Regions from separate parts of the Homo sapiens genome. Here regions 1, 2 and 4 are each linked to region 3. The links are contacts of gene promoters, found by promoter capture Hi-C in blood cells and fetal thymus (Javierre and others, 2016). All regions are on one chromosome and are shown on one strand. Each heading gives the region's core, a stretch centred on a gene start or on the middle of the fragment in contact. The rest is flanking DNA. Distances are from core to core; before and after follow the strand shown.

Region 1 (6,927 bases), core at 4,008-6,507, 230 kb after region 3:
GAAACTCCCATATATACATTATTCAAATTCGCCAACTATTTACACTCTCCCTCTTCACAGTAGTTACACAGTTGCTGCAAATACTGGATCATTGCTTTTAGGGGAAGACAGGGTCAGGTTCCTGTGAGCCTCCGGCTACAACATTTTCATCGACTGATCAATACATGACCTTTTCAAAAAAAAAGTGTGCTTTTGTTTAAAGACACCTTATTTATAGGCCGGGCGCGGTGGCTCACGCCTGTAATCCCAGCACTTTGGGAGGCCGAGGCGGGCGGATCACGAGGTCAGGAGATCGAGACCATCCTGGCTAACACGGTGAAACCCTGTCTCTACTAAAAATACAAAAAAATTGGCCGGGCGTGGTGGGGCGTGCCTGTAGTCCCAGCTATTCGGGAGGCTGAGGCAGGAGAATGGCGTGAACCCAGGCGGCGGAGCTTGCAGTGAGCCGAGATAGAGCCATTGCACTCCAGCCTGGGCGACAGAGCGAGACTCCGTCTCAAAAAAAAAAAAAAAAAGACACCTTATTTATTTATTATTATTATTATTTGAGACAGAGTCTCACTCTGTCGCCCAGGCTGGAGTGCAGTGTCACCATCTTGACTCACTGCAACCCCCATCTCCTGGATTCAAGTGATTCTCTTGCCTCAGCCTCCTGAGTAGGTGGGATTACAGGTGTGTGCCACAACACCAGCTAATTTTTGTATTTTTAGTAGAGACAGGGTTTCGCTATGTTGGCCAGGCTGGTCTCGAACTCCCGACCTCAGGTGATCCACATGCCTCGGCCTCCCAAAGTGCTGAGATTACAGGTGTGAGCCCCTGTGCCCGGCCTAAATACACCTTATTTAATACATATTGTTGATCCATTGACATTGACCCCACGTGGCCGTGGGGGTCAATGAGCGCTAAAACTCTGCCTGAATGAAGCTTATCTAACTCGGGCATTTTCTCCCAAAGGCACGCATAGCCTTCTCGATCATGGGAACACTAGACAGCCTCAGCACTGCACGGGGGCCATTTTGAATGGTGAAATCACCAACAAGAAGCACAAAACTGTGAAAAACATGACACTAAATAGACTGTGAAAAGGACACTTGTTTACGGGTCGGAGAGCTGAAACAGGGAGATGAGTGCTGACTGCTTCACCTCAGCGGGTGACTTTAGTCTCTGGAGACATCAATTTTTCACCACTCTGTGTATGCACCGGCTTTCAAATACCCACAGAAAGGCCCAAGTATTGATTTTGGGGTTACAAATAAATTTAGCTAGAGGTGAACCCACAAATACAGAATCCAAGAATAATGAAGATGATTTGAATCGTGAGGTTATGTTAGAAACACCCCACCTCTGCACCCCTGAGTACTTCAGTGTATATTTCCAAAATGGTTGTTCTCTTACATAATCACTTTTGTAGTTGTCAGAATCTGGAAACTCACCAGCAATACAATACTATAATTTGATACATGCTTTTCCCCCAGTCCAGCAGCCAGTCCAAGATCACAGGATGTGTTTAGTTGTCCTGTCTTTTGGTGCCTCAGTCTTGCTTTGCTTTTTGTGGTCTTGACTTGCAGAATGTCCTTCTGTGTGTGTTATCTGATGTTTCCTTGTGAGTAGATTCAAGTTGTGCGTTTGTGGCAAGAATATCCAGGGGTGATGTCTTCTCAGTGCATAAGGAGAGATGTACTGCTGTTATTTTGCTATTTGTCCTCTGTTTGCTTCCTAGCTTTTCTGGACCTCATTTCCTGCATTACAAGCTTTTTGGTGTGTTTGGTTTTTTTTTTTAATAGAAAAATGTTTGAATTTCTTCTCATTTTCTTCTGTGTATATTCTACAGCTATTTTCTTTGTTATTACAATGGGTATTACATTTAACATCTGTATTAGTCCATTCTCATGCTGCTAACAAAGACATACCCGAGACTGGGTAATTTATAAAGGAAAGAGGCTTAATTGACTCACACTTCACCATGGCTGGGGAGGCCTCAGGAAACTTACAGTCATGGGTGGAAGGGGAAGCAAACATGTCCTTCTTCACATGCCAACAGTAAGGAGAAGTGCTGAGCAAAAGGGGGAAAGTCCCCTTATAAAACCATCAGATCTCATGAGAACTCACTCACTATCATGAGAACAGCAACTTTGAGGTAATGACCCCCATGATTCAATTACTTTCCACCAGGCCCCTCCCATGACAAATGGGGATTGTAGGAACTACAATTCAAGATGATATTTGGGTGGGGACACAGCCAAACCATATCAACATCCTAAAGTTATAACACTCTGGTTTGAATTTATACCAGGTCAACTTCAGTATCGTATAAAAACTCTGCTCTTTTTACAGCTCCATCTCTTTTTCTTATGGTTGTTGATGTCATAAAATTATATCTTTAAACATTCTATGCCCCAAAACATAAACTGACAATGATTTTTAAAAAGTTAGTGTCTTAAATTATACAGCAAACAAAATGTGTAGTTACAAACCAGTTACAGTAATACTAGCGTTGGATTAGTTCTTGGTTTAACTAATCAATTAATTAATTTATTATTATACTGACTTTTAATTTATTTTATTTACTTATTTATTTATTTTGAGATGGAGTCTGTCTCACTCTTGTCACCCAGGCTGGAGTGCAGTGGCCCGATCTTGGCTCACAGAAACCTCCGCCTCCCAGGTTCAAGCGATTTTCCTGCCTTAGCCTCCCAAGTAGCTGGGATTACAGGCACCCACCACCATGCCTGGCTAATTTTTGTATTTTTAGTAGAGACAGGATTTTACCATGTTGGCCAGGCTGGTCTTGAACTCCTGACCTCAGATGATCTGCCTGCCTCGGCCTCCAAAAGTGCTGAGATTACAGATGTGAGCCACTGCACCCGGCCGATACTGATTGTTTTTTAAAGTGTAATAGTCTCTTAAATTCTGCAGAAAACCAAAAGTAGTTTTACAACCTACTGTTACAATAGTACTAGCTTTTATAATTGCACATATATTTGCCTCTATTGAGATCTTTACTTCTTCATACAGTTTCATGTTACTATCTAGTGTCCTTTCGTTTCACCTTCAGGACTCCCTTAAGCATATCTTGCAGAGCAGGTTTACTGGTTATGAACTTCTTGAGTTTTCTTCTTCGCTTTTTTTTTCTTTTTCTTTCTTCTTTTTGTTCAGAGACAGGGCCTCACTCTGTCACCCAGGATGGAGTACAGTAGCATGATCACAGTTCACTGCAACCTCAACCTCCTGGGCTCAAGCAATCCTCCTCCCTCAGCCTCCTGAGTAGCTAGGATTACAAACATGCATCACAACGCCTGACCTTTGATTTTGTAGAGATAGGGTCTCACTATGTTGCCCAGGCTGGTCTCAAAATCCTGGACTCAAGTGATCTTCCTGCCTTGTCCTCCAAAGTATTGGGATTATAGGTATGAGCTATTGTACCTGGCCCCTTTGGCTTTTCTTATATTTTTCTTTTATCTTCTTAAAAATATTATTTATGGGTTGGGTATGGTGGCTCATGCCTGTAATCCTAACACTCTGAGAGGCCAAAGTGGGCAGATTGCTTGAGCCCAGGAGTTGGAGACCACCCTGGACAACATGGAGAAACCCCACTCTACAAAAAAGAAAAAAAAAATTAGCTGGGCTTGGTGCATGTCTGTAGTCCCAGCTGTAGTCCTCAGGAGGCTGAGATGGGAGGATCACTTGAGCCCAGGAGGCTGAGGCTGTAGTGAGCTGTGATCATGCCGCTCCACTACAACCTGGGCGACACAGCAAGACCTTGTCTCAAAAAATTTTATATTATTGATTCCTTTCTTTTACAAACCCTTATCTTGAGGGCTGACTTTAAATAGATCACAGTGAGGGAGATACTCTGCTATGTACAAAATCCTGACCCAGAAGCAGGTTGTCTATGAATGGTTTAGTACCAGGTTCTCCGTGAATGTGCACTCCATGATGGGCCAGCGGGGACAGCCCATTTCTGGCCATACCCCATTTCACGGGTTGAGGAGTTCTCTGTACTGGACTCCGGTCCTGGCACCAGATGAGGCACTGGCAGCACGGTAAAGGACCAGCTATCTGAGGCCAACCAAGGCTCTGCAGTGCTATCATATCATTCTGCCTTCTGCCTGGGCGGAGTTTTGATTTAGAGGCATTCAGTCATAATCTCACGGATGGAAGCTTTGCTGCATTGGCTTTTCAGCCAAGCACATATTCTTCACTTTTGAAAGACAGTTTTATCCAATATAGGATTCTTGGTTGACAGGTTTTTTGTTTTTGTTTTTGTTTGTTTATTTTTTATTTTTTTGAGACCGAGTCTCACTCTGTCTCCAGGCTGGAGTGCAATGACATGATCTCAGCTCACTGCAACCTCTGCCTCCTGGGTTCAAGCGATTCTCCTGCCTCAGCCTCCTGGGTAGCTGGGATTACAGGTGCACACCACCAAGCCCTGCTAATTTTTGTATTTTTAGTAGATGGCATTTTGCCATGTTGGCCGGGATGGTCTCAATCTCTTGACCTCGTGATCTGCCCTCCTCAGCCTCCCAAAGTGCTGGGATTACAGGCGTGAGTCACCATGCCCGGCTGTTTTTTTTTTTCTTTTAATAGTTTGAAAATGTCTTGGGAGGCCGAGGCAGGCAGATCACAAGGTCAGGAGATTGAGACCATCCTGGCTAACATGGTGAAACCCCATCTCTACTAAAGATACAAAAATTTAGCCAGGCGTGGTAATGGGCGCCTGTATTCCCAGCTACTCAGAAGGCTGAGGCAGGAGAATGGCATGAACCTGGGAGGTGGAGCTTGCAGTGAGCCGAGATCAAGCCATTGCACTCCAGCCTGGGCGACAGAGCGAGACTCTGTCTCAAAAAAAAAGAAAGAACAAAAAAGAAAATGTCAGCCCACTGTCTTCTGGCCTGAAAAATTTCTAATGAGAAATCTGTTGAAAATCTTATTTAAGATCTTGGTATGTCACATGTCTCTTCTCTCTTGCTACTTTCAGCATTCTCTCTTTGTCTTTCAAAAGTTTAATTATTATTAATTATTATTATTATTATTATTTTGAGAAGGAGTTTTGCTCTTGTTGCCCAGGCTGGAGTGCAATGGTGGAATCTCGACTCACTGCAACCTCCACCTCCCAGGTTCAAGCAATTCTCCTGCCTCTGCCTCCTGAGTAGCTGGAATTACAGGCATGCTCCACCATGCCCGGCTAATTTTTTATTTTTAGTAGAGACAGAGTTTCTCCATGTTGGTCAGGCTAGTCTCAAACTCCTGACCTCAGGTGATCCACCTGCCTTGGCCTCCCAAAATGCTGGGATTACAGGCATGAGCCGCCGCACCTGGCCTCAAAAGTTTAATTGTAACGTGTCTTGGTGTGACTCCTTCTCTCTCTTAATTTTAATATTTAATTTAATTTTATTTATTTATTTATTTATTTTTGAGACAGAGTCTTTTTGTGTCACCCAGGCTGGAGTGCAGTGGCGTGATCTTGGCTCACTGCAACCTCCACCTACTGGGTTCAAGCGATTCTCCTACCTCAGTCTCCTGAGTAGCTGGGACTGTGGGCGCGTGCCACCACACCTGGCTAATTTTTGTACTTTTAGTAAAGATGGGGTTTCGCCATGTTGTCCAAGCTGGTCGCGAACTCCTGACCTCAGGTGATCCACCCGCCTCGGCGTCCCAGAGTGCTGGGATTACAGGTGTGAGCCACTGTGCCCAGCCAATTGAATTTAATTTTTGAGACAGGGTCTTACTCTGTCACCTAGGCTGGAGTGCAGTGGCACAATCATAGCTCACTGTAGCTTTGACCTCCTGGGCTCAAGCAATCCTCTCACCTCAGCTTCCCAAGTAGCTGGGACTATAGGTGTGTGCCATCTACATCTGACTAATTATTTTATTTTTTGTAGAAACAAGGTCTCACTATGTTGCCCAAGCTGGTCTCAAACTCTTCAGCTCAAGTGATTCTTCTTCTGCCTCACCCTCCCAAAGGCATGAGCCACTGATTCTCTCTCTCTCTCTCTCTCTTTGGAAACAGAGTCTCACTTTATCACCCAGGCTGGGGTGCAGTGGTGTGATCATAGCTCACTGTAGCCTTGAACTCCTGGGCTCAAGTGATCCTCCCACCTCAGCCTCCCAAGTAGCTAGCTAGGACTACAGGTATGCACCACAATGCACAGTTAATTTGTTTGTTTGTTTGTTTGTTTGTTTGTTTATATGTTTGTTTGTTAGAGACAGGGTTTTGCCATATTGCCCAGGCTTGTCTCAAACTCCTGGGCTCAAGCCAACCTCCTGCTTCGTCCTCCCAGAGCACTGGGATTATAGGCATGAGCCACTGCATTTGGTTGGATCTCTTTGAATTCATCTTACATGAAGTTCATTAAGCTTCTTGCATGTTTCTTTTCATCTCTTTCATCAAATTTCGGATATTTATGGACATTAATTTTTCAAATATTCTCCCTGCTTCTTTCTCTTCTCTTTCTGTGACTCCCACAGTGCCTATGTTGGTCTACTTGATGGTATCCCAAGGTCCCTTAAGCTCTGTTCATTTTTCTTCAGTCTTTTTTTTTTCTTTCTTTCTGTTCTTTAGACTTGATCATTTCCATTACCCTATCTTCAAGTTCACTGATTCTTTCTTCTGCCTGCTTAAACCTGCCTTTGAATCTGCCCTCTACTTATTTTTCATTTCAGTTGTACTTTTCAGCTCTGGAAATTTTTTTGGTTTCTTTTAGATTTTATTTTTACTGATATTTCCATTTCGTTCACACATCATTCTCTTGACTTACTCCATACCCTCCTGTAGTTTTCTGAGCATCTTTAAGACAGTTGCTTTAAAGCCTTTTTCTAGTACACCTGCCATAAGCTCTTTTTCAGGGACAGTTTCTGTTTATTTGTGGTTTTCTTTAACCTTCGAATAGGCTATATTTTTCTGTTTCTTTGTATGCCTTTTGATGT
Region 2 (7,464 bases), core at 228-2,727, 200 kb after region 3:
TTTAAAAAAATTTTCAGCTCAAAATGAATATATATTGTACTAATGATCAGGTCATCATTTGTTCTGCCCTCCTAAGTGTGGAATCTGTTCTTGCTGGCATGATCTTTCCTCTAAGACCACACGTTTACACATTAAAGGTAGCGATGGGATTTTAAAAAGCTAACACAAGTCGATACTGTAGTAGAGTATAGACAAATAGGGGTTGAAAACATCCCAGCACTTTGGGAGGCCAAGGCGGGCAGATCACCTGAGGTCAGGAGTTCGAGACCAGCCTGGACAACAAGGTGAAACCCCATCCCTGCTAAAAATACAAAAATTAGCCAGGCGTGGTGTCACATGCCTGTAATCCCAGCTACTTGGGAGGCTGAGGCAGGAGAATAGCTTCAACCCAGGAGGCAGAGGTTGCACTGAGCCAAGATTGTGCCACTGCACTCCATCCAGCCTGGGCGACACAGCAAGACTGTGAAAAGAAAAGAAGAGAAAAGAAGAGGAAAGAAGATGAAGGAAAGGAAAGGAAAAAAGACAAGACAAGACAAGACAAGACAAGACAAGACAAGACAAGACAAGACAAGACAAGACAGGGCGGCTAGCAAAGCCTAAATGCTTCATAGCTACCACAGAGGTGCCCCCTCCCAACAAACACACAAGGGTGCAGACTCCCATGGGACATAGCTGGCTCACGTGGAAATGTCCCCATGGTCACGGTTTGGCTGACACACTCTGAGCTAATTAGCCACTGACTACATTTAGAAGTAAAAATTGCCTCAATTTTGTCCCAAATTGTTAGGAAAAACATTTCAAGAAAGTACTGACTGCTTCTTTTTTTTTTGAGACGGAGTCTCGCTCTGTTGCCCAGGCTGGAGTGCAGTGGCACGATCTTGGCTCACTGCAACCTCCGCTTCCCGGGTTCAAGCCATTCTCCTGCCTCAACCTCCTGAGTAGCTGGAACTGCAGATGCACGCCATCACACCCGGCTGATTTTTTGTATTTCTAGTAAAGATGGGGTTTCACCGTGTTAGCCAGGCTGGTCTCAATCTCCTGACCTTGTGATCTGCCCGCCTTGGCCTCCCATAGTGCTGGGATTACAGGCGTGAGCCACCACGCCCGGCCATTACTGACCACTTCTTAAATGGTGTATTAGCTTGGTGCAAAAGTAATAAAGTAATTGCGTTGTTTTTTTTTTAGTTACAAATCCTGTTCTGATTTCCCAATATAAAAATGTCAGGAAAATTAGACATCCACTATATTCCAGACACTGTTGCAGGCACTGAGAATACAGCATGGAACAAAATAAGGCTTCTGCCCTCATCTGTGCTTATATTCTAATGGAAAAAAGCACTAGGAAATAATAAATTAACGAATGAATGTCGGCACCTTTTGGGGGGAATAAGCCATTTATGGTGGCAGGGAGTGTTTCAGGTGGAGAAGGAGGGTGATAGTGGCTGTTTTCTAAGACAGCAAGGGATGTGAAGGGACAGCCAGGCATCAGGCAAGAAGCATGCAGTAGACAAAGGGAAGGGCAAACACAAGGCCCAGAGGCTGGCGTGGCTGGGGCAAATATGGAGGAAGAGTGGGAGGATGAGGTCAGAGAGGCTGCCACAGGGAAGAAGGGCTTCAAAGCCACTGCTGAGACTTGGGCCTTTACTCCCAGTGAGAGGGAAAGCAGAGGAGTGACACGATCCAACCCACAGTTTTAAAGGACCATGCTGGCAGCTTGCTACATGGTACTTTAAAAAAGCAGTTCTAATGAAGCTACTAATAATTTCTAGGACAAGAGAATGCAGGGAGACGTTATTAGTAGTAGTAGTCTATTTACTAACTGACTACTGCTAGCCAGAGGAGAACTAGTGGCTGCAGCAGCAGAGGTGGCAAGAAGTGGTTGGCTTCGAGATCTTTTCTGAAGGTTCCGCTGATAGTCGGGAACTGCTGACAGATTGAATGCAGGTGTAGGAGAAAGAGGACTCAAAAATACCTGCAAATGAAGAATGGAATTAATATTTAGGGATGTGACAAAGACTATAGGAAGATTGGCTTCCGCAAGGACTGCGGTGTGGGAATTTGGTTTTGGTCATTTTTTCTTCCTTTTTGGGGGTCTTTTTTGGTTTTAGTCACTTTTGAGATGCCCACTACAGATCCAACTGGAGTTGGCAGCTGGATACCAGGGTCTGGAGTCCAGCTCCAAGCTGAAGATAAAAATCTGGTATTTTTATCTTCAAATAAAATCAAAGTATTAATGGCATTTCAAGCCATGGAATCAGATGAAATCTAGGACTCAGTGCAGATCAATGAAGTCCAAGGACTGGGTGTCGGGGGCACTTTAACATGTATAGGTCAAGAGGAGGAGAAGCAGCACAGGATCACAAAAGGAGCAACAAGTGAGAAGCAGAGCCAGGCATGACAGGGACCACTCTGTGGAGGGAGTTACCAACTCAGGCAAGGACTATAGGTGCCCAGTAAGCAAATACTTTTATTTTATGAGTCTAAACTCGTGGAAAGGATGGGCTATTGCTGATCTGTGAGCCTTGCTCAGAAACAACAGAGAACTTCTAAATGGACACAATGTCTTAAAACACGCACTTGTGAGGAAGACGGGGCTTTGCTTTAAGAAACAGATGGCAGAGGGCAATATCAGGAACGAGAGAGAGAGAGACTGACTCGCAGGCCAGAAAAGACAAATGTAAGTTAAAATTATGGAGTGGGAGGTGATGGGAATAGGTTAGTTAATTTGAGAAGGCAAGCCTTCAGAGCGCTTATAGGATCTGTGTTAAAAAAATTTTTTTAAACTAATAGATTGGTTAAATCTCTGGATGGGAGTAATACAGATGATCTGAGTAGGAAAACGAAGTGGAATTCCTGAGGACTACTGTGCAAGGCTTTGTGCCTTCTACTTTCGTGAGTATTCACAGAAATGATGCAATCAGGCTCTGAGAAAATGGAATTGGGATTCTGCTCCAAGATGGGCAGCATCACTTCCCCAAGGGATTTACCCAGCACTGAAATCAACAGGAAGAGTCACCTTATGTGGTTTCACTGGATCAACACATGGGAAAAGAAGCACTTACTACAGATTCTGGTACCAAACATAAATAAGGAGGTGGGGGGTGAGGGGACAATTTATGATCAAGATAAAACATACTGGAAAACTGCTAAAATAAGAAATGTATTTAAAGGGGAAAAGATTTCAAGAATGATTTCCAGTTGTATTTAAAGCGGAAACTCCTAATCATAACACGATGCCACTAAGGTGAGAAGCGCGACACCCACCACCACCAGCACCACCACAATGCATTCCAAATCACCAGTGCTACCGTTGCTGGGGGGAAGGATAACTTTCAAAAGTATTTTTTCCCCAAACGTTTACAGTGAACCTATTTACTTATAATCAGAAAAAAACTGAAAACCTTAATACTTTAACACATTTCAAAAGAAAGCAGCATTGATTCATAGAAAATGGGCTACGTTCACATAACCATGCCTGTTCTATGCCAGTGATGGCCCCTCAACAAATGTCAATGCCCTTCTCTTTCCAGGCTCTTTATGAGATTATAAATTGTTGAGTGACTTTTGAGAAATTGTGTCCAATTTGAGAACTCTGATTCCAATCCATTTTTACTTAAACACAGGCATTTTTTGCTTAATATCCTAAAAACAAACTAAGATTAAAAAAAAAATCTGTCAAAAAAGTTAAAACACTGATTCTGAATGACTAGAAAGAATGTTAACGTAATTCCTGTGACATTACCGAGAACCCTCTAGCCAGTTGACATGCTGAACTTGTCTGCAAACAGTTTATCTTAGAGAAATTATCCAGTGGCAGGGAAACAATCCCCAAGTGGTTGAAAAAGAAAAGTCAATACACATTTTTAAAAAGTAGGTTCTGGCTGGGTGTGGTGGCTCACGCCTGTAATCCCAACACTTAGGGAGGCCGAAGCAGGTGGATTCCTTGAGCCCAGGAGTTCAAGACCAGCCTGGGCAACATGGTCAGACCCCAGTCTCTACCAAAAAAAAAAAAAAAAAAAAATTAGTCGGGTGTGGTGGTGCGTGCTTGTAGTCCCAGGTACTCAGGAGGCTGAGGTGGGAGGATGGCTTGAGTCCAGGAGATTGCACCACTGCACTCTAGCCTAGGTGATAGAGCAAGACTCTGTCTCAAAGAAATAATAAAAAGCAGGTTCTAGCCTGTTAGAGGACTTTCATAAATCTTTATTTAGAAAGGCAAAGAAAACATTTTTCAAGTGATTTAGTTATAATTTGGTAAGAAAACAATCCAGTACACCACTGGTTAACAGTGAGTGAGATTACAATGGAGAATGACATCACAAGCAATATTTACCTGCTACATGTTCAACTTTTCAAAATAAACATCTGTGACTTTTGTAACAAAATATTAAAGATACTTACACAAAGGAAAGGGAAACAGCTTGGCAGCTTCCCACCACAGGGCCTTTGCACTTGGGGTGCCGCCACACTGCTCCTCAGTCCCTGCCCAACCCCACTTCTCCAGCTATATAGATTTCCTTGTTATACATTTTAACCCTTAACGTTTCTCAGCATGGTGCTTATTACAACCATACTCACTACTCTGTGTAATTATCTGGTAACACCTGCCTTCCCTACTAGCTAAGACACACTTTTTTTTTTTTTTTTTTTTGAGACAAACTCTCACTCTGTTGCCCAGGCTGGAGTGCAGTGGCTCAATCTCAGCTCACTGCAACCCCTGCCTCCCGGGTTCAAGCGATTCTCCTGCCTCAGCCTCCTGAGTAGCTGGGATTACAGGCGCGCACCACTATGCCCGGCTAATTTTTGTATTTTTAGTAGACACGGGGTTTCACCATGTTGGTTGGGCTGGTCTTGAACTCTTGACCTCGTGATTTGCCCACCTCGGCCTCCCAAAGTACTGGGATTACAGGCGTAAGCCACTGCACCTGGCTTTATTTCCATGTTTTGGCCGAATAATCCTGCTGTGAACGTGGGTGTACAAAATACCTGTTTGAGTACCCGCTTTAATTCTTTTGACGATATACCCAGAAGTAGAATTGCCGGGTCATATGGTAATTCTATGCTAAACTTTTTCTTTTTAGATGGAGTCTTGCTCTGTCACCCAGGCTGTAGTGCAGTGGCACGATCTCAGCTCACTGCAACCTCCGCCTCCTGGGTTCCAGGGATTCTCCTGCCTCAGCCTCCTGAGTAGCTGGGATTACAGGTGTGTGCCATCACACCCAGCTAATTTTTGTATTTTTAGGAGAGACGAGGTTTCACCATGTTGGTCAGGCTGGTCTCGAACTCCTGACCTCGTGATCTGCCTGCCTCGGCCTCCCAAAGTGCTGGGATTACAGGCGTGAGGCACCGCACCCGGCCCCATACACTTTCATATCATTAGAATCCAGCACAAGACCAGACATAGGTCCATTCATATCACCTTCCCTTTCTATTCTCAAACCAACTGCTACACATAAGCAGAATCGGTTTTTAGTTTTCTCCTAAATGTGAAATCACAAAAGGACTTGACATCAAAGAATTCCAAATCGGTCTTTATCAATGGCTATTCCAAAGCCGTCTGCAATCAATATTGCAATAACTAAGGCTCCACGGAATCCTATGGTATCAATCCCAGCGATGAGGCCAATAAAAGAAGCCCTGCAAAGCTATCAGAAGCATTTGTGACCAATATTCCATCATAACACCATTAACACTGCTTGACAGGGCAATTTCTCAGTTGCTAATTTGTTAGAAAACTACCACGAATTCACGTTCATACCTGTAACCTTAAAACTTGCTCCTATAAACATTGTTGTCTCACCTGAGAAGCTAGGTGACTTGTCAGAGTAGTTCAACGGGGTGTTAGTATTATGAAAAGAGAAAGGCCTCAGGGTTTTCATTTCCCTGAATTCACAATTATGCTTCTACCTAAGGCAGAGCCTTTACTTTAAAATTAGAGCTGTCACGCTAATTCAAATGGTAATCAGGTATCTAGAACCATCAACTCCATAGCAAAGAATACGTCTCTATACTCCTAAAATAATTACAAATGTCCATGATATTATCATTCCTACTTTCCTTCTCTAGCTTTCATAGGGTCAAGCTTGGATGCATTTTGCTTCACCCAATTCAACAGCTTTCCCAAGTACCCTCAGGTGGTAATGCCCTCACTCAGGCCACCAAGAGAATAGCGTCTGAAGCTGAGCAGTTTACCTACCACCAAGGTAGAATGCTTCACCCACTGCCCTTTCAGAATAAAACGATGGCCACAGACACCATCACTAAGTTTTGAAAAAGACTAAACTTGTTGAGCTAACAGCTCTAAAGCAGACTGTAGTATGGTGGAAAACGGCCCCCAAAGACATCGGCTCCTAATCTCTGGAGCCTGTGAATGCTACCTTATAAGGAAAATGGTCTTTGAAGATGTTATAAAAAATTTTGAGATAAAAGAGATTATCCTAGATTATCTGGGTAAGCCTTAAATGCCACTCAAATGACTTTATAAGAGGCAGAGGGAGATTTGACACCTCACAAAGTACAGAAGGTGAAGCAGACTGGAGTGATGTGGCCACAGGTGAGGGAATGCTGCAGCCCACCAGAGGCTGGAAGAAGCAAAGAGCAGCTTCCCTCCACAGCCCTGCCAACGCCTTGACTTTGGCCCAGTGAAACTGATGTTGAACTTCTGGCCTCGAAAACCGTGAGAGAATAAATTTCCGGTTTTTTTTTTTTTTTTTTTTTTTTGACACAGAGTCTCACATGTTGCCTAGGCTGGAGGCAGTGGTGCGATCTCAGCTCACTGTAACCTCCACCTCCCAGATTCCAGCAATTTCTCCTGCCTCAGCCTCCTGAGTAGCTGGGATTATAGGCACCTGCTGCCACGCCAGGCTAATTTTTGTATTTTTAGTAGAGATGGGGTTTCGCCATGTTGGCCAGGATGGTCTCGAACTCTTGACCTCAAGTGATCCGCCCACCTTGGCCTCCCAAAGTGCTGGGATTACAGGTGTGAGCCACCGTGCCCAGCCCATTTCTGTTGTTTTAAGCCGCTAAGTTTATGGAATTTGTTACAGTGACCACATAACAGAGATTATGAAAAACTAAACCAAAGTAGAAACGCTTTACAGTTACCACACTCCAAAAATACATAAAATTCCAACATGTCACAGGAAAAAAGATTTTAAACAACTTTTAAAACAGTGTATTTAAAACAAGTTTTAAAAGACTGGGCAACAAAGTGAGACCCTCATCTCTACCAAAAAAAAAAACAAAAAAAACAAGTAGCCAGTTGTGCTGCTGCGCAACTTCAGTCCCTGCTACTCAGGAGGCTGAGGCTGAAGGATCATGGGAGTCCAGGAGGTAGAGGCTGCAGTGAGCTATGATCATGCCACTGCACTCCAGCCTGGGTGACAGAGTGAGACCTCACCTTTAAAAACATAAATAAATAAAAAGTTTAAATCATACACTATCCTTCAACTGAAGGTATAAAATGCA
Region 3 (6,685 bases), core at 1,085-3,584:
AGTGCCACCGTATCTGCAGAAGATGCTACCATTGCAAAGTCGTAACTGTGAAGGCTGTAGAGTAGGCTAAGATATGCTCAGTGAAAAGAAGGAAGCAAGCTCTGGGCACTGTGGCTCATGCCTGTAATCCCAGCACTTTGGGAGGCCAAGGCAGGAGAATCACTTGAGGTCAGGAGTTTAAGACCAGCCTGGTCAACATAGTGAAACCCCATCTCTACTAAAAGTACAAAAATTAACCGGGTGGCAGGCGCCTGTAATCCCAGCTACTCAGGGTGCTGAAGTAGGAGAATCGCTTGAGCCTGGGAGGCAGAGGTTGCAGTGAGCCGAGATCACACCACTGCACTGCAGTCTAGGTGACAGAGCAAGTATCTGTCTCAAAAAAAAAAAAGTAAGCAAGCAAAAGCAAACATAGCCCGCTTGCATACACACACACACACACACACACACACACACACACACGGGCACGTCCACACACGTGCTCTGGGGACAAGGATGTGAATGTAATCCATGCATGCTGGTGGGACAGCATGGGTAGCCGATTTCCTGGAGGGCTTAGATGGGGTTTCTTTTTTATGATTTCAGTTATTCTAATCCTGCCTGTGCAACGGGAGATGTTTTAAATTTTCAAATTTTTGTTTAAATGGAGTTTTCTCTTGTTGTTTTGTTTGTTTGTTTGTTTTAAAGATGAGGGAGCTCAAATTCACCTAATTTGTCCACTGGTCTCCAGGTCCCATCAGGGAGGGCACTGTGGACCGGTGATGGGGAGGCTGAACCACATACCTCCAGGGCTCAGATCTGGGGGAGAGCTCTGGGGCACCTGCCCAGCCATGCCTGTCTGTGAGAAACACCCCCTCAGCACCAGTCACAGCGACTGGGCCAGGCATGGGTGCCTGGACTTTGCTGACCGATCAGAAACCCCTAACTCTACAGCCCCAACCCTGAAGGCCACAGTGGCTCTGGGAGGCCTCCAAGGAGGCCACGAGGAGGGTGCCACGTGAGGCCCAGGCAAGCTGGGAGGGAGCTCAGCCCGTGTGAATCTGTTGCTGGAAACCAAATGTGCCCTGAGGCAAAGTTCCTGTTTCCTTCCCCAAATCCGAGTTTCACCCCCTTCACTCTCAGGCTTCCGGGTAGAAAAAAACCTCTCCCTTGTTCCCTCGCCCCACAAACACCCCGGCAGATGGACACCTCCTGGCCCGCCGGCCTCTGTACCCCTCCGAAATGGGAGTACCGCAGCATCCCACAGGAGCAGCCGCGCCCACCTGATGAGCACAGGTGTGTAGAGCAGGGCGGCGATGGGAGTCACGTTGATGCCCATCAGCATTTTGCTGTCGATGTCGGGCAGCCCCATGTTGCCATACTTCACCTCGCGGTAGGTCTCGTCGTAGTGCAGGATCAGCTGCATCTGCAGGAGGCCTGGGGACAGGACAGAGAGCGGCGTGCAGGGAGCAGCCTAGCTTTGGGCGCCACCGAGCAGAAGACGGCATGCAGGCCTCGCAGGGAGCTCCAATCACCGAAGGCATTCCCGCTGACAGCGCCCCTCAGGACAGCGGGGTTCCCGGGCTGCGCCACGCCTTCTGCCAGCCCGCGGCCACTTGGCCAGCTAAGCCCAGACCCCCACCCGCCTTGCTCCGCCGGCCTCCAATTCTGACGGTGGCAGGTCTGTCCGGGAGCCCGGACCCCCGTCCCCCACCCACACCGAGGCTCTGGCTGGGACCCGGGGACGCTGCGCTACTTGACCCCCCAACCCCACCCCCGCCGCGGGGGGCCGTGGCTGCAGCTGCGAGGGCAGCGGAGGGGAAGTGAGAGCGGGCGGGAGGCGGCGGCCCGCGGTTTCTGTTTCCCGGGCCGGGCTGGGAGCGGGCGGGGCGGCCCCGGGTCCCCGAGCGGCACCTACCCAGGTAGACGCCGTAGGTGAGCATGCCCCCGGCGCTGGCAGCCAGCACGTTCTTGAGCACGCCCAGGCGCTTGCGGCGGTAGTAGCGGCGCTCCTCCTCCTCCTCGTTGTAGTTGGGGTACGCGCCCACCAGCTCGTCCAGCTGCGAGCCACGCACGCCGCTCGCACCCGCGATCGCGCCCCGAACCCGTGTCCCCCGGTGCCCGCCGCCCCCCGGCCCGCCCCGCCCCCGCCGGGGGGACCCTGGCCCACAGGGGACGCCCGCGCCTCGCACTCCGGGTCCCCGCTCACCGGGGCCTCGGGCCCGTCCGGGACCCCGAGCAGGTCCTCGTCGCCCTGCGGCCCCGCAGCCCCCGCCATCGGGTAGAGCGGCGGCTCCGCCTCCATGGCCCGAACTACTGCGGACTCGCGGCGGTCGCCCCGGAGTCCCTGCGACCGCCCGGCCACTTCCTCCCGGCGGCCGGGACCTGCCCCCGCCCCGCCCTGTCCCGCCCTGCGGGCCGCCTCCTCCAGGACACGTGTGTGTGTATGTGTGTGTGCGCGCGCGCGCGCGCGTGTGTGCAGGGGCCTGCCTGTGTGTGCCCTCTGGGGTGTGAGTTCGAATCCCCACTCAGCCACCTCCTGGCCCTGTGACTTTAGGAATTAACTCCATTTCTTTGTGCCTCGGTTTCCTCCGTTTCCTCGACGGTAAAACAGAAATACATGGCACTACCCCCGGGGCCATGGCGGAACTATTGAGTTAATGCAAAGCCTTGGAAAAGTGCCAGGGTTGCCTGGCTCCCTTAAGCTCCCCTCAGGGTTGCCTGGGTCGTCCCCAGCCCCACCTCCAAGCCTGCTGTTACAGCTCATCAAAGAGCACTGCAGGGACAGTAGCGTCACCACCTGGACCCCACCTCCCACCACCGGACGCTACAGCCAGAGCCCACCTCCCATGTCCCCATCCTGCTCCAGTTTGGGCTGTGCAAATGGGAGCTTGAGTGGGTCCTGGGAGGTGGAGATTGTGATCCCCACTGAACTACATGGGGGACCCTGCCACAACCATGTAGTGGGGCCCAGAGCCACCTGCCCCCATCCTGCTGGGCACTGGATCCCGGGCTGCAGCGGGAGCCTGTGGTGGGGCCGACACTCCAAAGCACTGGCTACCACCGACCTGGCTGGAGCCACGGGGCCACTTTTGAAAATATCCAGATTCTCTCCCCTGGGTTCCTTCTGGTTTGAATGCTCTTCCTGCTGCGCCTCCCAGGTGGCTTCCTTCCCACTCAGCTCTCAGAACAAGAGACCATCCCTGCAGAGAATGCAGTCCCTTCACTTCCCTTCTGGTTTTCCATGCCCTCCCTGTGCACCCCCCTCCACCCACTGCTCTTTAGGTACATCCTCTCCCAAATGCAGAGGATGGCATTGGGCACCTACTGAGTGATCAATACTTGTGACTGGATGGGTGCATGAGTGACTGGATGACAAACACCTCCCACCCCGCAAGGATTGCTGGGAAGGTGGGGGGAGGCGTGAATCTGCAGTGGCTTCAGGCTTCCAGGAGGTAGAACTTTCTCCAGGTGACGATGCCCAAGTGCAGATGTGGGGAACAGACAGGTGGATTCATGCAGGTGGGTGGCTGGAAGTGGGAGACAGGAAAGGAGCCGAAGAGAGGGCAGGGCCCGAGGCGCAGGGGCAGGGAGGAGGTGGGAGAGTATGGCTATGGCGGGGGCCGTTCTCAGATGGCAGACACCAGCATCATTACACAGTATGATGAGAAAGTGCAATTCTCCTGACTCAGCCTTGTGAGTAGCTGGAATTACAGGCGTGTGCCCCTACACCCAGCTGATTTTTGTATTTTTAGTAGAGATGGGGTTTCACCATATTGGCCCAGGCTGGTCTCGAACTCCTGACCTCAAGTGATGTACCCGCCTTAGCCCCCAAAGTGCTGGGAGTGGGCCCCCCGAGCTTCTCAATTTCCCTGAGGGACCCCAAACTTCTGGGGCCTGGTGCAATCTCTTCCTCCCCTTGTTCCTCTGGGCCTGGGGGTTGTGGCGGTTGCTATGGTTGCCCATCCTGGGCTCTTCCATCACCTGTGCTGTACCACCAATTCCCTGCACTCAATGTCTCCTACTCAAAACACCTGGAGAGGGTCGGGCGCTGTGGCTCACGCCTGCAATCCCAGCACTTTGGCTGGCCAAGGAGGATCACTTGAGCTCAGGAGTTCAAGACCAGCCTCAACAAAGTGAGACAAACCCCCCCCCCCAACCCATCTCTACAAAAAATACAAAAACTAGCCTGGTGTGATGGTGGACACCTGTAGCCCCAGCTACTCAGGAGGCTGAGGTGGGAGAATTGCTTGAGCCCAGGAGGATGAGGCTGCAGTGAGCTGAGATTGTGCCACTGCATTCCAGCGTGGGTGACAGAGTGAGACCTCTCAAACAAACAAACAAACAAAAAACAAAAAAAACAAAAAACAGCCCTGGAGGCACTAAACCCTGACTGATACACCTCCTCTCTCCAGAAAGGATTTTTTTTTTTAGGTGGTTTATGGAGCTGCTCTTGGGGAGCCTGGAGACTATCTAAGAGGCTGATAGGGTGGCCCAGATAAACACACCAGGGTGACCTGCGGGACAGAGATCTGAGCAGGGCCAGCACCTCCACCAACCCATCCAGGTTGCAACAGTGCACAGTCACATCCCCAGGAAGGGGTGGCCAGATCCCCCCGTGCTCACTGTTTGCCAATGCTTTTCTCTATAATAAGCCTTTACTTTCAGTTCTCATTATGAAAATAATCGATGTTCCTTGCAGAAAAGCAAGCAGAAGAGAATAAATATTGCTCTCAACTGGAACTCCCTGAAACAACCTCTTGGAATATTGTTGCCCCGCATTGCACTGACACAGGAGCGTGCTGGGCAGCCCACGTGATTCCCTTCACACCACTTCCCTGGCATGGATGTGATTCCACAATATTTTAAACATTAAAGCCAATGGGGATGATGATCACTGAGTCTGGCTCACAGGATGGTGGGAGGTCCCCAGGTTGGGGTGTGCCAAAGGCTCTGCCCAGTGCCTGGCACAGCAAATGCCCAGGTGGCTGCTGCTTTCCACTGAGACTTGAGGCTCCTGAGAGTTGGTGGCAAAGGGCTCACCCAGAGCTGAAGACTCCAGCCCATTCCTGTGCGAGGGCTCCAGGCACCTTGGAAGCACCGTGGGCCGGGGAGCCAGGCCAGGCTGGTTGTGGATCCCCATGAGTCCTTGTCACTGTGTGGCCCAGCTGGAAAGCATGGTCAATAATGTCTGGGAATTGTGAAAATTGTGTGAAGTGTCTGCACACAGTAGGTGCTCAGTAAAGGTTTGTTGAGTGCGTAAATGAACAAGTGACCCGCATTCACCGTTGCCCGTGAGTTCTGACTGTGTCCTGGGCCCTGGGCCCCTACAGCCTCTAACTTTGCCTCTTCAAGGAGCCAGGGTGGGTCCAGCCTTCAAGACTGCCAGGGAGGGGGTGGGAGGCAGGGCCAGGGCCTCAGGGCCAAGGCCTGGGGCAGCCACTTCCTCAGGAGGGCAAGGAGAGGGGCAGGAGGACATTCACATGCTCTGAGCGCCTACTGAGAACCAGGTGCCCTGTCGGTGCCTTCAGGTCGGCTCTCGTTTCACCCTCGCAGTAGCCATGTGAGGCAGGCAGAGTCAGCCCCCATTTTACAGCTGGGGAAACTGAGGCCCAGTGAGGGGACGTTTCTTTTCAAGGTCACTCGTGGGCAGATGAGGCAGTGAGATGCTCTTGGGCAGGTCTGAGGCCCTGTGAGCCAGGCTCAGGGGCGTGTTTCTGAGAAGTGAGGGAATGAATGAATGAATTATGAATGGATGAATGATTCCACCTGATGCCATGCTCATGCCCTGCCCACACTCCTGTCCTAGAGTCTGGAAGGTAGCTCTCAGACCCTTCCAGAGGGGGCCGGGCACTTGGAATGGTCACAGTTCCGGGCCCACGTGCATGGAATAACTTGTTTCAGCCTCACAATCACTTATGTCCCATTTTACAGATGGGAAGGCAGAGGCACGGGGGGTTAAGACACTAACCTAGGTCACACAGGTAAGTGACAGGACCAGGATTTGAGCCCAGACCTCACACTTAACGCCCTCCATGCCAGGTGCTGAGATCCATGCCTGCCGAACCCTCTCATTCACCCACAGATGCCCCCGGGACTGTAGTCAGCCCCATTCTCACATGGGAACACTGAGGCCCAAAGAGGCGAAGCGTCAGCCCAGCAAGGAGGAGGCAGGGCAGGCGGGGCCGCAGCTGTCTGGCCCGGAGCCCTGAGCAACCCCTCCACCCACTCCCCCTGGCTGGCCTGGGCCTTGGCAGACCTCACCCCAGAGCTGGCTCCAAAAGTGAGTCCTCCTGGTGCCCTACCCAGAGGGCTCCCCATTTACCCTGGGCTCCTCAACAAAGATGGGACTCCCAGGCCCTACTGAGCCTCTGGAGCTTTGAGGAGTAGTGAGGGGCACCCAACCCAGAGTGGGGAGGGCCCAGCCCTCCTGGGAGGTGTGTGGCCTCCCTTGGGGGGAGCCTCACTCCCAGGGAAGGCTAGGAGTTCTGTCCCGGGAGGACAGGCCTCTTCGGGGGCCTCCTCCCAGGTTGCTCCTGCATTCATGACAAGTTCGGCCCCTGTGAGTTGGGGGAAATTCTTCAACAGCTCCCTGGCCAGGGAGGGGACCCTCGGGATCCTGAAACACCCCTCCCACCTGCCAGTACCCGCCAAGATGGGTCCCTGATTTGCTGTGTGGCCTTAGACCAGTGGCTGCCCTCTCTGGGCC
Region 4 (7,195 bases), core at 1,285-3,784, 170 kb after region 3:
CAACTCTACTATTTTTATTGAAGCTGGCATATATACATATATATATATCTGTATGTATGTATTTTTAAGCAACTAATGCTTTAGGGAGGTTTCCACCCATAAAACTAGGATCATTAAAACTTTAGCCCCAACCTTTCTTCTAGGCCAGTAGAAGACTGACTGTGGAAGCCAGGTTATCTAATCACGGTATCCACAACTCTTCAGCAATCATATCACTGAACAGGCATCCAGAGTCAATAAAGGAAAATGAAAAGCAATTTGGCCTAGAGATGGGATCTGGTTCAACTGAGACTTCCGATTTCCCCACTCTGACTCCAGCTGATGGGCCAAGGCAACGGCGATGCATTGGCTACTTCAGGGTAAACTCTGGCTTCATTCCTTACCATGAATTTCTCAGCACTTCAACAATAATTTAGAAGAGAACTTTAAATTAAATTAAAGGCTTATACTAGTAGAATAGTTACCACTCTTTTGTTGCAACTATTTTGGCTCCATTTTGTTCTGATGAGTATCTATTACATGGCAATATTTCAAATCCACTGTCAGTTGCAAACATTCGCAAATAAATAAATACCTAAAACAGGAAAAAAAAATTGATAATGACTTTAAATGGTATACCCTGCTAGACTTTCTTACAATTATAAAAGCAAACCACCCGCAATGATGAAAAAAATGTAAGATCTAGCCTGAGCAACATAGCGAGACCCTGTCTCTACGAAAAACATTAGCCAAGCATGATGGCATGTACCTTTAGTGCCAGCTACGTGGGAGGCTGAGAGGAAGAATCACTTGAGCCCAAGAGATGGAAGCTGCAGTGAGCCATAATCAGGCCACTGCACTCCAGCCTGGGTGACAGAGCAAGATTCTGCCTCTAAAAAAACAATAAAATAAACAAAAAAAGTAAGATCATTAGGTAACAAACTTTATTGTTACTCAAGAGTTTTGAATGTCACAATTTTTCTCATTTTGCAATATTTGCATTACAGTAACTAGCTGAACACCTCTAAACAAAAAATTCAAAATCCTCCCATGAGCATTTCCTTTGAGTGTCAGGTCGGTGTTCAAAAAGTTTCAGATTTTGGAGCATTTCAAATTTTGGGGTTAAGGGTACTCACTCTGTATGAGTACCTAATGGCTTGTTTCCCTTAAGGCTCATAATGAATTTCACCTCTATATGACAAAGTTTTCTCTCCTTTTTTGGTTTTAGAGACAGGGTCTTGCTCTGTCTCCCAGGGCTGGAGCGCAGTGGCATGATCATAGCTCAGAGCAGCCTCTAACTCTTGGGCACAAGCAATGCTTCTGGCTCTGCTTCCTGAGTAGCCGGAACTACAAACTACAAAGGTACACACTACTATGCCTAGCTAATTTTTTTATTCTTATTTTTTTAGAGATGGAGTCTTGCTATGTTGCCCAGGCTGGTCTCGAAGTCCTGGCCTCAAGCAATACTCCCATCTTAGCCCCCACAAAGTGCTGGGATTACAAGCATGAGCCACTGAGCCTGGCCCAGTTTTTTCTCTGGACTGTCATCCAAATGACTGTATGTGTTACAAGATCTTCAGACTGATTAGTTTTATGAAAAATAAATTTAAAATTTCAGTATTAACTAACATTTAGGGTTTTAATTTACTTCACTATTCTTATCCAAATAGGTTAACAGCATCAGTCTTAATAAACTTACATGTTCTTTGAATAATTTCTCCTGCATTTTATTCTTGTTGAGAAAATAGTGCCGTGCCCATTCGCCTGAAGTCAAACATTTGAAGGCTTTCTCCAAGTGTTCATCTTTCTTAAAACGTTCAATTACTTCCTTTAGTTCTTCCTGCCTTCCTTTAATAGGCCTAAATCTGAAAGAAATCAAAAGAATGAATGGGTTATCTGCCACAATCCTTGCGCCACTGATCCATCTTAACAGATCTTGAGAAAGAGCTAATACCCTAAAAACAGCCATGGTTATCAGAGCAAAGATCTAAGAGAAGAGAACAACAATCAATAGTCTTGATTACTACTATTCAAGTAATACTGATCACCTGGATACGCAAGTTCTCTTTTTTCAATCTGTTATTTTAATATTTTTATTTCACTGTTATCTCAGTAACTTCTCTTTTTTCAATCTGTTATTTTAATTATTTTTATTTCACTGTTATCTCATTAACTGTGAGGTGAGCAGACGATTCAAACAAAAGCTGTCTGATTCAGACTTACACTAGTCGTCAACTTTGGGAGACACAAAATCAAAGCTCTAGAATACAGCACACCTAATTTAGAGTTAGAATGACAAGAATCTTTTTAAAACATGCAAAATCAAGCTGGAAGAGTGCCAGGCAATGAATTTCAGAAGTATGATGATGTAAACAAAACCATGCCATACACAAAAACATTCTTTATGTACACAGTCAGAAAAAACCCCAAACTAAGTATTCCAACAGGCTTCGAAACACACCTTGATGTTCTAACCACCCATGTCAAAGTCATCTTTGATGACTGCATTCAGAGAACAAAACGAGTACAAGCAGTGTTAACTCTAGTGGTGAAATTGCTATACTGGTAATGTAGGAAAACTGATGGGGTAGAGTTGTTTTTTTTTTTTTTTTTTGAGATGGAGTCTCACTCTGTGGCCCAGGCTGGAGTGCAGTGGTGTGATCTTGGCTCACTGCAACCTCTGCCTCCCGGGTTCAAGTGATTCTCTTGCCTCAGCCTCCCATGTAGCTGGGATGACAGGCGTGCGCCACCATGCCCAGCTAATTTTTGTATTTTTAGTAGAGACCATGTTGGCCAGGCTGGTCTTGAACTCCTAACCTCAAGTGGTCTGCCCACCTTGGCCTCCCAAAGTGCTGGGATTATAGGTGTGAGCCACTGCGCCTGGCCTGCAGGGGTAGAATTGAAAAGGCTTCCATTGTAGAATCAGCCACACTGATGTCTTCAGAATATTATCCCATTAGGTCTGTATTTATGCATGATGCAGTCATGGCCCAAGCAAGACAAATTTGTGAACCCCTCATTCTAAAGCTGTGTTTTCAGTAAAACGTGTACTATAAAGTTACTAGCATCTTAATTTCAAATTTTCTTTTCATGTCAATTTCATAAAGCTAATTCTCCCAAATAAAGTTTTTATTTTAAAAAAAAGTTTTATTTTATTTTCATAAAGCTAATTCTAACCGGATTATGGCCCGGTATGGTGGCTCTCACCTATAATCCCAGCACTTTGGGAGGTCGAGGCGGATGGATCACGAGGTCAGGAGATCGAGACCATCCTGGCCAACCTGGTGAAACCCCGTCTCTAAAATGCAAAAAATTAGCCAGGCCCACGTAGTGGTACACGCCTGTAGTCCTAGGTACTCAGGAGGCTGAGGCAGGGGAATTGCTTGAACTCGAGAGTTGAAGTTGGAGTGAGCCAAGATCGCGTCACTGCACTTCAGCCTGGTGACAGAGCAAGACTCTGTATCAAAAAAACAAAACAAAACGTCCAACAGAAAAAAGGAATCACCGATTGCCATTCAAATAAAATACATTAAGAAAAAATATTAGTGGTTCAGGAGAAAAAAATCTTTATGTGTCTTACTCTGACATTTAAAATTGTACATTTCATAAACCTGAATATGCTAAAATTGAGGTAAGATCTAGCACAAACTCCAGCAAAGGAAGCATTCAGCAGAATTTTTTTTCCTAGAGAAGCTATCATATATGTATTCATAGTATTTCAGTAAGATTTCAAGCCACAGTATTTCATCAAGGATTATTAGGTGCTGTGTTGTGTATACAGTGGCATATGAAGTGCTATGGTGAAAAATACAAGAGAAGACATGGCCACTGTTCTTGAATGGAAAATTTAATTGGGACTAAAAGACATATATATGCATCAAACAGTTAAGCAAGTGATCAATATGCAAATGCATGTTAATATGCTAAAAACTGCATTGCTATAGCACCTAAAAGTATAGAAATTATAACTAGGGTGCAAAATGTACATGGGAAAGGTTTAAGAAAAGCACATTATAAGCAGGTAAGAATCAAAAGGAAGGAAGAATGAGGGGAAGTCTAAGCAGAAGATCTTAATCAAGCTGGATTCAAAGAGTTGACCAGGGTCAGCTAGGTAGCAATAATAAAGTAAAGTACCAGAATCAGGAAGAGGAAAGACATGAGGTCCTGAACAGGTATAATACTGTTTACTGGACAGGATCACTGGAAGACTTCAGGTGTATTAATGCATACTGATACTACCAGGAACTTACTAGCTACACACTCTAGTCATTTTTTTTTTAATTCAGTAATCCTGAATTCTCACAACTATTAGCTGAACCATCTGAAAGTTCAAACATATCCTAGAGATAATACTGAAGAAATGAACAGGGCCCTATTTTCCATTTTCAATCAATTGGTATACAAGCCTTTACAGACAGATAAATGCAAGTCCTTTAAACAATTCAGAACGTCTTACTAGTCTGTCGACATATGGTGTCAGAGAACCACCATGAAAATAAAGAGCTGTAGAATTGGGAAAGCATCCAAATATCCATACTCAACTACTTGTAGCCATCACAATTGATTGTGTCAAGATACCATCTCCAAGAAATCCAATGGAAACCATTCTTGCTGCAATCCTACACTACATGGTTATTTGCACATGAAGGACAGATAAGACAACAAAGCAGCTCTCAGCTAAGGCATGACCTGTCGAGCAATATGAAATATGAAATATGAAATGGTGGGAAACAGATAACCCGTGCTTTGTGTGGCAATCAGAAAAGCAATAGTTCACTTTAAGCAAATGCAATAAATTATCCATGCCGTTAAATGACAGGGCTACAAACGACAGAAAGGGCCAAGCTATCTTTACACGTTCAATGTGAAAGTGACCAATGGGAACATTATACAAAAGTAAGTTATAGACCTGGAATGAAACTTGGCTATTTTTAATAGGCTTTATGTGTGTTCTATGCTTTCTGAAACAAGTTCATTCCTATCTAAAAATGCCTTCAGGTAACCTTGGTTTTGTTTACTTTTTATTCATAATGCCAAACAATTTACATGCTAAAACCAACACAAAATAGTCAACTCTTGATTTAGTAGTATTCTGCCTACCTTCCCTGTGTTGACTTCTGTTTCTGCTTTCCTGACTTTATTGCCTCAAACATAAATAAAACCCCTGAAACTATCCCTTGCTACCAATAGCAAGAACCTCTATTTCACTAAAAATATAAGTTGCTGTCCCAAACCTGTTAAAACTTACTGTCACAGTTGGCTGCTATGGGCATGAAATGACAGTAAGGAAAAGGGGGAAGAAAATGGTTAAGGGTGCAGACAGGCAGGAGATGAGACAGTTGTTTTCAATAATCCTACAGAAGTATGTAAAAGTCAGCTGGCTGATAGTCCAAATCAAATCCCATTGTAACAAATACTGTGGAAAATAAAAGTTAAGACTGTTATACCTATTAGGGCTGGTGCAAATGCACTGAAAACCTTAGGGAAATTTTTTTTTTTCCTATTATTGAACAGAAAAATACCCTCTCTCCTTAACTATAATCACTCTAAATCTCCCATACAAACTGCATAAAACTATCCTTTTACTCTGACACTTAAAGGCCAGATAATTTAGAACAGCCCTTTTGTTCCACAAATGAGGAAAATAAGGCCCAACAAGGCTGAGTAGATTGCCAATGACTTAGGGTTAATGAATGGAAGACCTGGGATTTACCCTGGCCTTTCTGGTTCCTGTTATATCACCTGGCTCAGGAGAGCCTTCCTCACATTGTTTCATGGTTAGAAGAGGATTTGACTTGCGTTTGCCATTGAACATCAGCACTGGGCCCAGCCAGAGACAGCTCTAGCTTGTATACTGACAATACAGTGGAAGGGATGGACGCAAATGTGAATTTTAAAATTTCGTATTTGGGTGGGGGGGTGGGTGACAAGGGAGGCAAGAAAAACAGTTATTTGGCATTTCCAAACCAATATGCCCCGTCCTCCCTCCCTTAATAGAAAATTTGCTACTTTAAATCAACCAAACATATCTATTTTTTCTCTTTTTACACTTCCAATCAATGGCTGGTATAAGAAAAATAAAAATGTCATTTACAATTGATTATTATTAAAGGGGCAGGAAAAAAACATATGAATTCACACTCCCACACACCTGTTCCCCACTCTTTCCAGAGACTCACTTCCCAGGTTTTCTTGCTATTTGGTTTTTCTGTCTCCCCACTGTGGCAGTGAAGAAAAGTTGTAGACTGTATTAGCTGTGCTACTGTGCCCTTCATTAGCATGCACAATCAAGAGCTGACTGGAGGGGTGGGGAACAGGAAGGGGAACAGAAAAAAGGGAGACAGGGAAGGAGAGAGGAAGAGAGAAAAATGCTCAAATATTTAAGATATAAAATAAAACCATGAGGCAACATAGTGAACACATTTCCCCCTCTGAAGAAAGTTTAGCTGCAAATCCACAGTTTGTAGACGCTGAGTGAGGAGTCGCAGATCAGCTCTTCAGTCCTTCTTGACCTGAAAATAAACGAGAACCAAAAACATACCTGGCTGAGTCCTGCAATCAGTGCTCAGCTAATCACATGGAGTGACTCCTGATCTTTTGAAGAATGATTTGTTTCTCTTAAAATCACCCTGTTATGAAGTACAAGTGGTTTTTTAAAAAATACAACTATTATCAAACTACTTTAAAAGGTTTGTAAAATGTTCTAAAACTCTAATTTATGCTGACACTTCAAATTACTTAACATAAAAGAACATTTTAAAAGGCTAGAATGGGTTAGTCAGTATCTCATTGTTTTTAACACACACTACCTACCTCACAGGGTTGTTGTGAGAAAAACTGTCAGATTTTGAAAAATGCCTTGAGCTCCTCGAAGGAAAGGCGCTATATAAATGCAAAAACAAACAACAAAAATAAAAAGCTATTTGTATAATCTGTACTTGTAATTTCTAAACAGACTTACAATATTCGTTGTTGCAAAAATCTTTAAAACTCTGTGATAATCAAGAACTTTAAGATACCACAGGTGGGCGCGGCAGGATAGAAGCCATGCTGCTGAAATTCTCTGCTTCCCATAGAACACACCTTACCATGAAGTTAGAAGCTTTGAAAACATTCTTTACGGATTCTAGTCAAGCACTTAATTTTAAAATGATATTTAAAGTGATTCATATTCATATCCAATAGTGGATATGAATAATCAAATACATATAAAAGT

Evidence for each region. The method cuts DNA at HindIII sites, captures the fragments that hold promoters and counts their contacts. A CHiCAGO score of 5 or more calls a contact.
Region 1: a fragment that was not itself captured here is called in contact with the fragment with the promoter of UNC93B1 in region 3 in 1 of 17 cell types (total B cells); the score reaches 5.0 in total B cells.
Region 2: a fragment that was not itself captured here is called in contact with the fragment with the promoter of UNC93B1 in region 3 in 4 of 17 cell types (naive B cells, total B cells, neutrophils and 1 more); the score reaches 10.5 in naive B cells.
Region 4: a fragment that was not itself captured here is called in contact with the fragment with the promoter of UNC93B1 in region 3 in 1 of 17 cell types (total B cells); the score reaches 5.5 in total B cells.

Annotation. Positions count from the first base shown.
Region 1 is chr11:68,227,777-68,234,703 of GRCh38, forward strand. No RefSeq gene overlaps it. Among named protein-coding and RNA genes, the nearest start is that of KMT5B, 18 kb to the left of the region's middle. The HindIII fragment of the contact is 2,196 bases long and covers 4,160-6,355 here.
Region 2 is chr11:68,197,919-68,205,382 of GRCh38, forward strand. The region is part of intron 1 of KMT5B (lysine methyltransferase 5B); the gene reads right to left. Among named protein-coding and RNA genes, the nearest start is that of KMT5B, 12 kb to the right of the region's middle. The HindIII fragment of the contact is 9,199 bases long and covers 1-6,077 here.
Region 3 is chr11:68,001,763-68,008,447 of GRCh38, forward strand. UNC93B1 (unc-93B1 regulator of TLR signaling) reads right to left here and starts at 2,335. Exons shown (of 11, transcript NM_030930.4): 1 at 2,186-2,335; 2 at 1,895-2,036; 3 at 1,260-1,413. The coding sequence starts at 2,281. RefSeq lists enhancers at 888-1,087, 1,188-1,237, 1,338-1,387, 2,292-2,835, 2,836-3,378 and silencers at 1,688-2,097, 2,158-2,457. The HindIII fragment of the contact is 17,319 bases long and covers 1-6,685 here.
Region 4 is chr11:68,173,340-68,180,534 of GRCh38, forward strand. KMT5B (lysine methyltransferase 5B) reads right to left here. Exons shown (of 11, transcript NM_017635.5): 4 at 6,793-6,861; 5 at 1,679-1,844; 6 at 465-574. Among named protein-coding and RNA genes, the nearest start is that of KMT5B, 36 kb to the right of the region's middle. The HindIII fragment of the contact is 9,089 bases long and covers 1-7,079 here.